Linked DNA regions of Homo sapiens: region 2 is linked to region 1. The links are contacts of gene promoters, found by promoter capture Hi-C in blood cells and fetal thymus (Javierre and others, 2016). All regions are on one chromosome and are shown on one strand. The core of a region is centred on a gene start or on the middle of the fragment in contact, and the rest is flanking DNA. Distances in the headings are between cores, read along the strand shown.

Region 1 (5,261 bases), core at 508-3,007:
TGGCTGGGGAGAATCACCTGGGAAGCCAAGCACACATGGTGGGGATGCTGCCCTGATGTCTCACCTCCCAGCCCCTCCCCTCACAAGAGGGTCAGAGCTTGAGGCACATGTACTGTTAGAAGGTGGCGGATGCTTCCTTTTTCCTGGGCCCACTTCCTCCTACTACAGCCCCCCCTTCTACCCTTGGAGGTACCCAGGATTCTGTACCTGGAAAGGGGCCACAGCCTTCCTGATCTCAGCTGAGACTACCTCCTCTAAGCCCAGGACTGTGCAGGGGCTGAATGATGAGGACTAAAGACAAGTACAGCAAGGCCCCACCCTCACGGAGTTTAGGGTGACTGTGGCTGCAAGCCGGACACAGCTGGACAAGCTTTGCAGGAAACAATGGAACAATTATGAATTGGATGTAATCAGGGAACTCATGGTGGACTGGAATCAAGGAGGGCTTCATGGAAGAGATGGGATCAGAACTGGGCTTTCAGAGTGAGGACAGGAAGAGGGAGAAAGGGGAAGACAAACAAGGCCATGGGCAGGCACAGAGCACACATTCAATAAATACTTGCTGAATGAATGAATGAGTGAATGCATGGATGACTATGGCGCTTACGGGGACTGGTGAGCCACTTTGGAGTCAGCATTGAGAATTTAAATGGCTTCAGAGACTAGGCAGGCAGCACTGATGAGTAAACCAGACCTAGTATGAGATGACAGGGAGTGGTGGAGACTGTGATAAGCTGGACGTCCACAGCCTATTGGCATTCACAGAAAAAAGGATTTCAAAACGCTGGAAAGGAAAAAAACAACTTAAACTCTGCTGGCCAAAACCAGCTCTAGGGTCACAGTTCACTTCTTTGGTTTACCTGGCAAGGAGTTAGAGCAATTTCAAGCAGGTCTCATGTGGCCCAGGGAAAGATGAGACTAGAAGGACAAGGCCCTGGGGTCCAGAGCACCGGCCGCCTTCGACATATGGGATGGACATCTCCTTGCAAAGCCCCAGGCTCCCTGTCTCCATCAACCACAGTGGGCATAGGATGAGCTGTCAGGCTTCCTCCCCAAGACATCCTTTCATGACCCCAGCAGTTCAGGGCGCTCTGCCTGATGCAGACCACCTACTCGGGGACCAGACTGGAACGTGGCTTTGGGGATGTTCAGGAGCTGGAGAACATGGGGCCATGGGGGCACTGTGGCTCTAGTCTATTCTGTTCCACTGAGAATCGGGGGCTAAAGGCAAGTTGCTCCACCTGTCTGTACAACAGGGACCCCACCATCCCTGCATAATGCCTGCCTTCTTACTCCGAGGGGATATGGAACAGACACATGGGATAATCAGTGAGGAAGGGCTTGCTCCGAAATCTTAGAATGACTCCCCATAGACAGGAACAGACCCCTGCCCACCGCAGCCAGCTGCACCACCCGCCCCCCGCAGGCTGGGACCCCGCACCTCTGGCCTTGTAGTACTCGTGTTCCAGCTCCCCCTCGTCGTCCTCCGAGGCGTAGTTCAGCAGCTCCGCTTCGTACAGGGCCAGGAAGTCGATGTCCTTCTTCCTCCGCCTTTTCTTCTGGGGCATCATTCTGTCGGCTGCCTTCTCCCAGCGCTCGCAGGCTCACTGTGCCGCCTCCTCACACCTGCGGGAACCTGAGACCTCCTCCCTGAGCTCTGGCGCCCACGGCCCTCCTATAGCTCAGGCCTGGGTGGGCCAGAGTGCCCCGTTTTCTTGGCTTCCCCGTGCCCAAGGTGCTGTTCCCTCTGCCTTCTCTGGCTCCTGAGCTGAACCTCAGTGCCTTATCTCTGAACCTCCTGTCCCTGTCCCCTCCCACCACCCTCTGGTGAGCCACCTCCTCCTCCTCTGTACCTGCCCCGGGGCTTCTCTTTGGGCCTCATCACTTATTCATGGCGCTGAGGGCAGGCTGACTTCCTTCCTCTCTCCCCTCCCCACCAGCCCTCTCTCCTCCCTATGGAGAATCAGGTGACACGGAGCCCTTGAAGTCCATTTCCCACCTGGCCTCACAGCCAGGGGGTCACCTGGGATCCCTCCAGGCCACCCCAGGGACAGGTGAGGGCTCCTCACCCAGGAGATCTCCCAAGCCTTACAGCCCACACGGGACCCTCCTGAGGAAGGCGGGGCCCCGGAATCAGCCAGGCTCCCAGGACTCAAAGGCCCCCGTTTCTCTCCATTATTCATGACCTCTGATCGTCTTACGGAGCAGGCGGGGTTCTCGCTGGATCCTTCTCGTTCTCTCTCTCTGCTTCCATCTCATCAAGACTGCGGGCTTCCGGAAGTGGCCTCTGGGCACGAGGAAAGCTAGGGCACCAGAAAACTCTCCCCGCTCCCCCTGCCAGGTGAGCTTTATATGCACTAAAGTTTAAACATCATCGTAGCCGATGCCCTCCCAGGTGAACTCACTAACTAGATCAGCTCACCACCTGGACTCACGGGAGGGCATCAGCAAGCTCCTACCCCAGGGCGCACAGCCCGGGCTGCACACCAGAAGCCCCCAGAGAGGTGTTGAACGCTAATGCGTGGGTCCCATCCCCAAGGATTCTGATTTGCTTGGTTTGGGACGCAGCTTGGGCCCCAGTTTTTAAAGCTCCTGGTGACTTTCATGTGCAGCCATGTTGAGGGTCCCTGAATCGCTTCTCAGGTAACTTAGGTGTGCTAACAGGAGTCCTCTAGAAGCAACACGTGTGATTTTGTCCTCTAAGCCAAAATAGTGACTCTAAAGGGGAATTTCAGGTGGAGAGGAAGAGAGGATTTGGAGCGGACGCCTGAGGAGCAGTCGGCACTCACAGGCCTCCCCGGCAGCCTGGGGCAGCTTTGGTCCTGCCCTGCTCTTTGGAGCCATCCAAATCTTCCACTAGGGGGAGGCATCTCTAACCCCGAACGTTCCTACCCAGGAAAGATCAACCTCCCCTCTTCCCCTATTCAGCTGAGGGGCCGCCCTTGAAGCAGCTCAAAGTCCTCTGAGGACCAGGAGTGAAGTTTAATGGTGGGTGGCGCGCGCCCCCTTCTGGCAATATGTGGTTTACACACCTGGATTCTTCAGGAAGAGACCTTCCTTAAGGATCTCTAGGAATCTACTAAGAAAACTCATTTTACACGAGTACCCATTCAGGGAAAAGATAATAAAACGTTTCTTAGAATTTTTTTTGAGACGGAGTCTCCCTCTGTCGCCCAGGCTGGAGTGCAGTGGTGTGATCTCGGCTCACTGCAACCTCCGCCTCCCGGGTTCAAGTGATTCTCCTGCCTCAGCCTCCCGAGTAGCTGGGATTACAGGCATACGCCACCATGCCCAGCTAATTTTTGTATTTTTAGTAGAGACAGGGTTTCACCATGTTAGTCAGGCTGGTCTCGAACTCCTGACCTCGAGATCTGCCCACCTCGGTCTCACAAAGTGCTGGGATTACAGGCGTGAGCCACCGCGCCCGGCTGTTTCTTAGAACTTTAAAAGCTGAAATCAAAATATTTTTAGAGAATCCCATGGTACTGGAACACACTGGCTAGGAGGTCAGGGAAATAATTCTATATTATTTCTGTATTATTTCAAGGTTCTCCAGACAGACAGAACCACTAGGATATACAGATCAGTAGATATATGACAGGAGGCTTACTAGGGGCGTTGACTCATGGGATTATGGATGCCGAGAAGTCCCACAACAGGCAGTCTGCACGTTGGAGACGTAGGAAGGCTGGTAGTGTGGTGGGTCCAAGTCTGAAGGCCTGGGAACCTGGGAAACCCGTGGTGTAATTCTCAGTCTCAGGCCCAAAACCTGAGAACCTGGTGGTGAGCGGGTGATGGAGCAAGTCCCAGAGTCCAAAGACTGGAGAACCTAGAGTTCTGATGCCCAAGGACAGGAGAAGAAGGGTGTCCCAGCTCCAGGAGAGAGATAAAACATTCACCTTTCCTTTGCCTCTTTGTTCTGTCGGGGCCCCCAGCCGATTGCATGGTGCCCACCCACATTGAGGGCACAACCAGTCATGTTGACACCAAAAATTAACCCTCACAAATACCAAGAGTTCATAGGGACATGAGCAGCCAGAACTCTCATACTGCTAGTTGGAGTGTAAAATGGTGCAGCCACTTTGGAAAATAAAGCAAAGCAAATACTTCCCATGCAACCCAGAAATTCCACTCCTTGGTATTTACCTAAGATAAATGAAAAAGGATATCCACACAAGATCTGTATGTAAATATTCATAGAAGCTTTATTCATAACCAAAAACTGGACACAACTCAGGCATTCATCACCTGGCCAGTGGGTAAACAAACTGAGGTACATCTGTACAGGCAATAATACTCAACAATAGAAAGGAAGGGAGTCGGGAAACATGCTACAACATGGATGCCTCTGGAAAGCACTACGCTAAGTGCAGAAAAGCGGTCAGAAAAAATACATGCTGTGTGATTACATTGATGTAACATTCTCTAAAAGGTAAAACTATAGGATCAGAAAACAGGCCTGATGGGTGCAGTGGCTCACACCTGTGATCTCAGCACTTTGGAAAGCCAAGATAGGAGGATCGCTTGAGCCCAGGAGTTTGGGACTAGCAGTAACATAGGGAGATCCAGTCTCTACAAAAAATTTAAAACCTGGTGGCACAGACCTGTAGTCCCAGCTACTCAAGAGGCTGAGGCTGGAGGATCACTCGAGCCTGGGAGGTGGAGATTGCAATAAGCTGTAGTAAGCTGTGATTGTGCCATTGCACTCCAGCCTGGGCAACAGAGCAAAACCCTGTCTGAGAAAAAAAAAAAAAAAGAAGCCTATGGTTGCCAAGGGCTGGACTAGTGGGAGGGAATGGTCTGCAAGGAAGCATGAAGAGGCATTGCTTGGTCTCAGGAGCAGGACATGGGCTCCACCCTGTCTCTCTGAAGTGGCCTTATCTGCTGCCTTTCCATCTCCATGTGATGGCCTGTCTGGGTCACGCCTATGGTGCAGGCCTGGCTATTGACTCAACTCCCACCCCAGCTCCTTGGTGTGAGGATCCTGCACATAGCTGGCTGTGAACGGGTGCTCAGGGCATGCTTTGCAGACCCACTTCTCATCCCAGTGCAAGGTCTAGATTTGTGGAGAGGTAGGAGGAGGCCTCAGTAGGCATAGCACAAGGCCCTGAACTGTGCAGTGGTGGTGAGGAGTCCTAATTGATAAAGCTAAGATGTAGAGTCCCATCGGTTTCTTGTGTACTGATAAAAGCACAAAGGACAGACAGGGTGATTACTTGGGTGGGACCCCAAGCCTATGATAATAGGGAGAGGTTGTTCAT
Region 2 (5,192 bases), core at 1,819-4,318, 510 kb before region 1:
TAGTGCTTTCACCTTTATTTTTAAAGCTATTTTCACTGGGTTTATAATTATAGGTTGGCGGTTATTTTCTTTTAGCAGCTTCAATACATGATTCAAGTGTTTTCATACTTCCATTATGTGTTAGGTTTTCTTTCTTCCTTTCCTTTCCTTTTCTTCTCTCTTTCTCTTTCTCTCTCCTTCTCCTTTCCTTTCCTTCTCTCTTTCTCTTTCTTTCTCTCTCTCCTTCTCCTTCTCCTTTCCTTTCCTTCTCTCCTTCTCTTTCTTTCTCTCTCTCCTTCTCCTTCTCCTTCTGCTTCTCCTTCTCCTTTTCCTTTCCTTTGACGGGGTCTTGCACTGTCACGCAGGCTGCTGGAATGCAGTGGCACGATTATAGCTCACTGTAGCCTCAAACTCTTGAGGTTCAATCAATCCTCCTGCTTTAGCCTACTGAGTAGCTGGGACTACTGGCGTGCGCCACCACGCCCAGCTAATTTTTACATTTTTTTGTAGAGACAGGGTTTCACCATGTTGCCCAGGCTGCTCTTGAACTCCTGAGCTCAAGCGATCCTTCAGCCTCAGCTTTCCAAAAGTGTTGGGATTACAGGTGTGAGCCACCATGCCCGGTCATGTGTTAGTTTTCTATTGCTATGTGAAAATATTACTACAAACTTAGCATTTTAAAACAAAACACATTTATTATCTCAGCTTCTCTGGGTCAGCCATCTGGACATGGCTTAACTGGGTCCTCTACAAGGCTGCAAATAAAGAGTTGGCCAGGACTCCAGGCGTGGTGGCTCATGCCTGTAATCCCAGCACTTTGGGAGGCCGAGGTGGGTGGATCACAAGGTCAGGAGTTCGAGACTATCCTGCCTAACACGGTGAAACCCCGTCTCTACTAAAAATACAAAAAAATTAGCCGGGCATGGTGGCGGGCGCCTCTAGTCGAAGCTACTCGGAAGGCTGAGGCAGGAGAATGGCATGAACCTGGGAGGCGAAGCTTGCAGTGAGCCGAGATGGCGCCACTGCACTCCAGCCTGGGTGACAGAGCGAGACTCCATCTCAAAAAAAAAAAAAAAAAAGGGTTGGCCAGGACTTCATTCTCACCTAAGGCTTGACTAAAAATGAATGTGCTTCCAAACTTATTCCGTTTGTTGGTAGGATGCTGGTCCTTGAGTCTGTAGGACTGAGAGCTTCTGTTTTTTGCTAGCTATCAGCTGAGGCCAACCTCAGTTCCTCATCGTACCCACAGGTCCTTGCCAAGTGACAGTCCCCAACATGGCTCCTTGTTCCTCAAAGTCAGCAAAGGAGGAGAGACTCCAGTAAGACAAGTGTTATGATCCTCTGTAACACAATCATGTAATCTTGTAATTCACGTAGTCACATGCACATAATCACATACATCTTGTCACCTTTACCTTTTTTTTTTTTAAAAGAGATTTGAGAGACAGGGTCTCATTCTGTCATCCAGGCCTGAGTGCAGTAGCACAATCATAGCACCTCACTCTCCCAAGTAGCTGGAATTACAGGCAAGCACCACCATGCCCAGCTAATTAAAAAATAATTTTTTTTAATAGAGACAAGGTATCACTGTGTTGCCCAGGCTGGTCTTGAGCTATTGAGCTCAGAACAGGCTTGGTGGCTCACGCCTGTAATCCCAGCACTTTGGGAGGCCGAGATGGGTGGATCACTTGAGGTCAGGAGTTTAAGACCAGCGACCAGCCTGGCCAACATGGTGAAACCCTGCCTCTACTAAAAATACGAAGACTCGCCAAGCATGGTGGCGCGTACCTGTAATACCAGCTACTCAAGAGGCTGAGGCAGGAGAATCACTTGAACCTAGGAGGCGGAGGTTGCAGTGAGCTGAGATTGTACCACTACACTCCAGCCTGGGCAACAGAGTGAGACTCCGTCTCAAAAAATAAAAACTAAAAACATAACTACTAAGCTGAAGCGATTCTCCTGCCTTGGCCTCCCAAAGTGCTAGGATTACAGGCGTGAGCCACTGCAACCAGCCTAATTTTTTTTTTTTTTTTTTTTTTTTTTGTAGACACGCAGTCTTACTATGTTGCCCAGGTTGGTCTCAAACTCCTGGCCTCAAGTAATCCACCCACCAAAGTGCTAGGATCACAGATATTGAGCCACCACAAGTGGCCTGCCTTATTCTATTGGTTAGAAGCAGGCCACAGGCCCTGTCTCCACACAAGAGGGAAAAATCACACAAAGGCATGAACACCAGGAGGCAAGGCTCGTGGGGACCACTCTGAGTCTGTCCACTACATAAAATTTCTGCCAAGAAATCATCTGTCCACCAAACTAACATTGTTTATTTTTAAGTAAGTGTATTTTTTTCTGTGTTTTTGTTGTTGTTGTTATTCATGTTGTTTTGAGACAGAGTCTCACTTTATTGCCCAGGCTGGAGTACAGTGGCATGATCTCGGCTCACTGCAACTTCTGCCGCCCGGTTCAACTGATTCTCCTGCCTCAGCCTCCTGAGTAGCTGGGATTATAGGTGCCTGCCACCGTGCCTGGCTAATTTTTGTATTTTTAGTAGAGACGGGATTTCACCATCTTGGCCAGGCTGGTCTGGAACTCCTGACCTCAGGTGATCCACCCGCCTTGGCCTCCCAAAGTGCTGGGATTACAGGTGTGAGCCACTGTGCCTGGCCATTCTGTGGTCATTTTTAAGATTGTCTCTCTCTCTTTGGTTTTCAGCAATCCTATGACATGCTAGGTGAATTTTTCTTTTTTAACCTCTCCTAATTAGGGTTCATAGAACTCCTTGTATTAATAGCTTGACTTATTTCATCTCTTTGGAAAAAAATCAGCATTATCTCTTTAAGTATTGCCTCTGCTCCATTCTTTTCCTCCTTGTTTCTCATACCTCCAATGACCTAGATGTTAGACTTTCTCACTGTCTTCAGTAGATATTTTGCACTCTTTTCTCTATTTTCCACCCTCTTTTTCTCTCCTCTTTTTCCCCATTGTCTTTTCCTCCTTCAGTCTGGATGTTTCTTTTTTTTTTTCTTTTTTTTTTGAGGTGATCTCGCTCTGTCGCCCAGGCTGGAGTGCAGTGGCGCAATCTCGGCTCACTGCAATCTCTGCCTCCCGGGTTCACGCCATTCTCCTGCTTCAGTCTCCCGAGTACCTGGGACTACAGGCACCCACCATGGCGCCCGGCTAATTTTTTTTTTTTGTATTTTTAGTAGAGACGGGGTTTCACCGTGTTAGCCAGGATGGTCTTGATCTCCTGACCTCGTGATCCGCCCGCCTCAGCCTCCCAAAGGGCTGGGATTACAGGCGTGAGCCACCACGCCCGGCTGGATGTTTCTTTTTATTATTTTTTTAACTTTTTATAGAGATGGGGTCCCACTATGTTGGACAGACTGGTCTTGAATTCCTGGGCTCAAGTGATCCTGCTGCCTCAGCCTCCCAAAGTGCTGGGATTACAGGCATGAGCCACTGTGCCCAGCTTGTCAACCAGTTTTTGTTCAGCTTTTCAGCATGCCTATCCTACACCATTTATGAATCAGCACATTCCTCAAGGGCAAAGAGAGGCTTCATTCAAGAAGTTTCTCTTCCCTCTGAACATTAGCCCCTCAAGTACTGGCTGCTTGGGCAGCTCTCTCATACCTTTAAACAATTTTTTTTTTTTTTTTGAGACGGAGTCTTGCTCTGTTGCCAGGCTGGAGTGCAGTGGCGCGATCTCGGCTCACTGCAACCTCTGCCTCCCCTCCCAGGTTCAGGTGATCCTCCTGCCTCAACCTCCCAAGTAGCTGTGACTACAGGTGTGTGCCACCATGCCCAGCTAATTTTTGTGTATTTAGTAGAGACAGAGTTTCACCATGTTGGCCAGGATGGTCTTGATCTCCTGACCTTGTGATCTGCCTGCCTTGGCCTCCCAAAGTGCTAAGATTACAGGCATGAGCCACCACACTGGGCCCAAACAATTTTTTACTTTGCATTTTTTCAGCTTTCCTAGTTGTTCTCTGCAAAAGGATTCATCTACTCACATAGGCCTACATTTTTACTTAATATAGATTTCGCCATACTTTCCCACCAGGTCTGAAGTTAACCACTACAGTTCACATTTTCTGTTTGTTTATTTTGTTTTGTTTTTAGAGACAGGATTTTTCTCTGTTACAGAGGCTGGAGTGCAGTGTCACCATCATAGCTCAAGCAATACTCCTCTCTCAGTCTCTAGAGTAGCTGGGATGACAGACGTGCACCACCATGCCTGGCTAATTTTTTTTGTAGAGATGGGGTCTCTCTATGTTGCCTGGGCTTGTCTCAAACTCCTGGCTTCCAGCAATCTTCCCACCCCGGCCTCCCAAAGTGTTGGGATTACAGGCATGAGCCACTGTGCCTGGCCACATTCCTTTTATAGGAAGCTAATATTATATCACACCCCTTTGTTATGAAGAATAGTCCAAGAAAAAAAAAACTATCTATCTATCTATCTATCTATCTATCTATCTATCTATCTATCTGTCTATCAATCATCTATCTATCTCACAACCCTGATATTGTAACTGGCAAAAGGGTCTGGCTGCTCACCGTGTGTAAAAAGAAGCCAAAATAATAACAAGATGTGATAAAAAAAAAGAGAGCGAGACTTTATTATCCATGCCAGTAAGGGAAAGAATGAAAAAAATTCTACTTTTGAATTTGTAGAGGGAATGCAGGGGGTTTTAAAGAGAGGATTTGGGCCAGGTGTGGTTGCTCACGCCTACAATCCCAGCAATATGGGAGGCATAGGCAGGCAGATCACTAGAGCTCAGAAGTTCAAGATCAGCCTGGGCAACATGGCAAAACTACATCTCTACAAAAAATACAAAAATTAGCTAGGTATGGTGGCACACACCTGTATTCTCAGCTACTTGGGAGGCTGAGGTGGGAGGATCACTTGAGCCCAGGAGGTAGAGGCTGCACTGAGTGGTGATGGTGCCACTGCACTCCAGCCTGGGTGACAGAGTGAGACCCTGTCACACACACACACACACACACACACACACACACACACACACACACAGAGGGTTTGGAATGCAGAAGAGGAAGGGGAGCTAGCAGGTGTCAGGTGGCGTGACCTCCTCCAACAGCTTGTCTTGAATTATTGTTCCATCCGGTGAGGGGGTTGGCGACTTCGTGGCTCGAGGTGTCTGGTCCATATCAGGATCCAGCCCCTGAAGCTTCTAAGGAAATATATGACCAGATAA

Evidence for each region. The method cuts DNA at HindIII sites, captures the fragments that hold promoters and counts their contacts. A CHiCAGO score of 5 or more calls a contact.
Region 2: a contact is called between a fragment that was not itself captured here and the fragment with the promoter of LOXHD1 in region 1, in 8 of 17 cell types (total CD8 T cells, neutrophils, total B cells and 5 more). The highest score is 10.3, in total CD8 T cells.

Annotation. Positions count from the first base shown.
Region 1 is chr18:46,655,463-46,660,723 of GRCh38, forward strand. It overlaps LOXHD1 (lipoxygenase homology PLAT domains 1), which reads right to left and starts at 1,758. Exons shown (of 41, transcript NM_001384474.1): 1 at 1,442-1,758. The coding sequence starts at 1,571. LOC105372096 (a long non-coding RNA gene) reads right to left here. Exons shown (of 3, transcript XR_935430.4): 3 at 4,738-5,261. RefSeq lists enhancers at 2,006-2,955, 2,766-2,815. The HindIII fragment of the contact is 3,833 bases long and covers 369-4,201 here.
Region 2 is chr18:46,140,173-46,145,364 of GRCh38, forward strand. No RefSeq gene overlaps it. Among named protein-coding and RNA genes, the nearest start is that of ARK2N, 31 kb to the right of the region's middle. The HindIII fragment of the contact is 4,189 bases long and covers 975-5,163 here.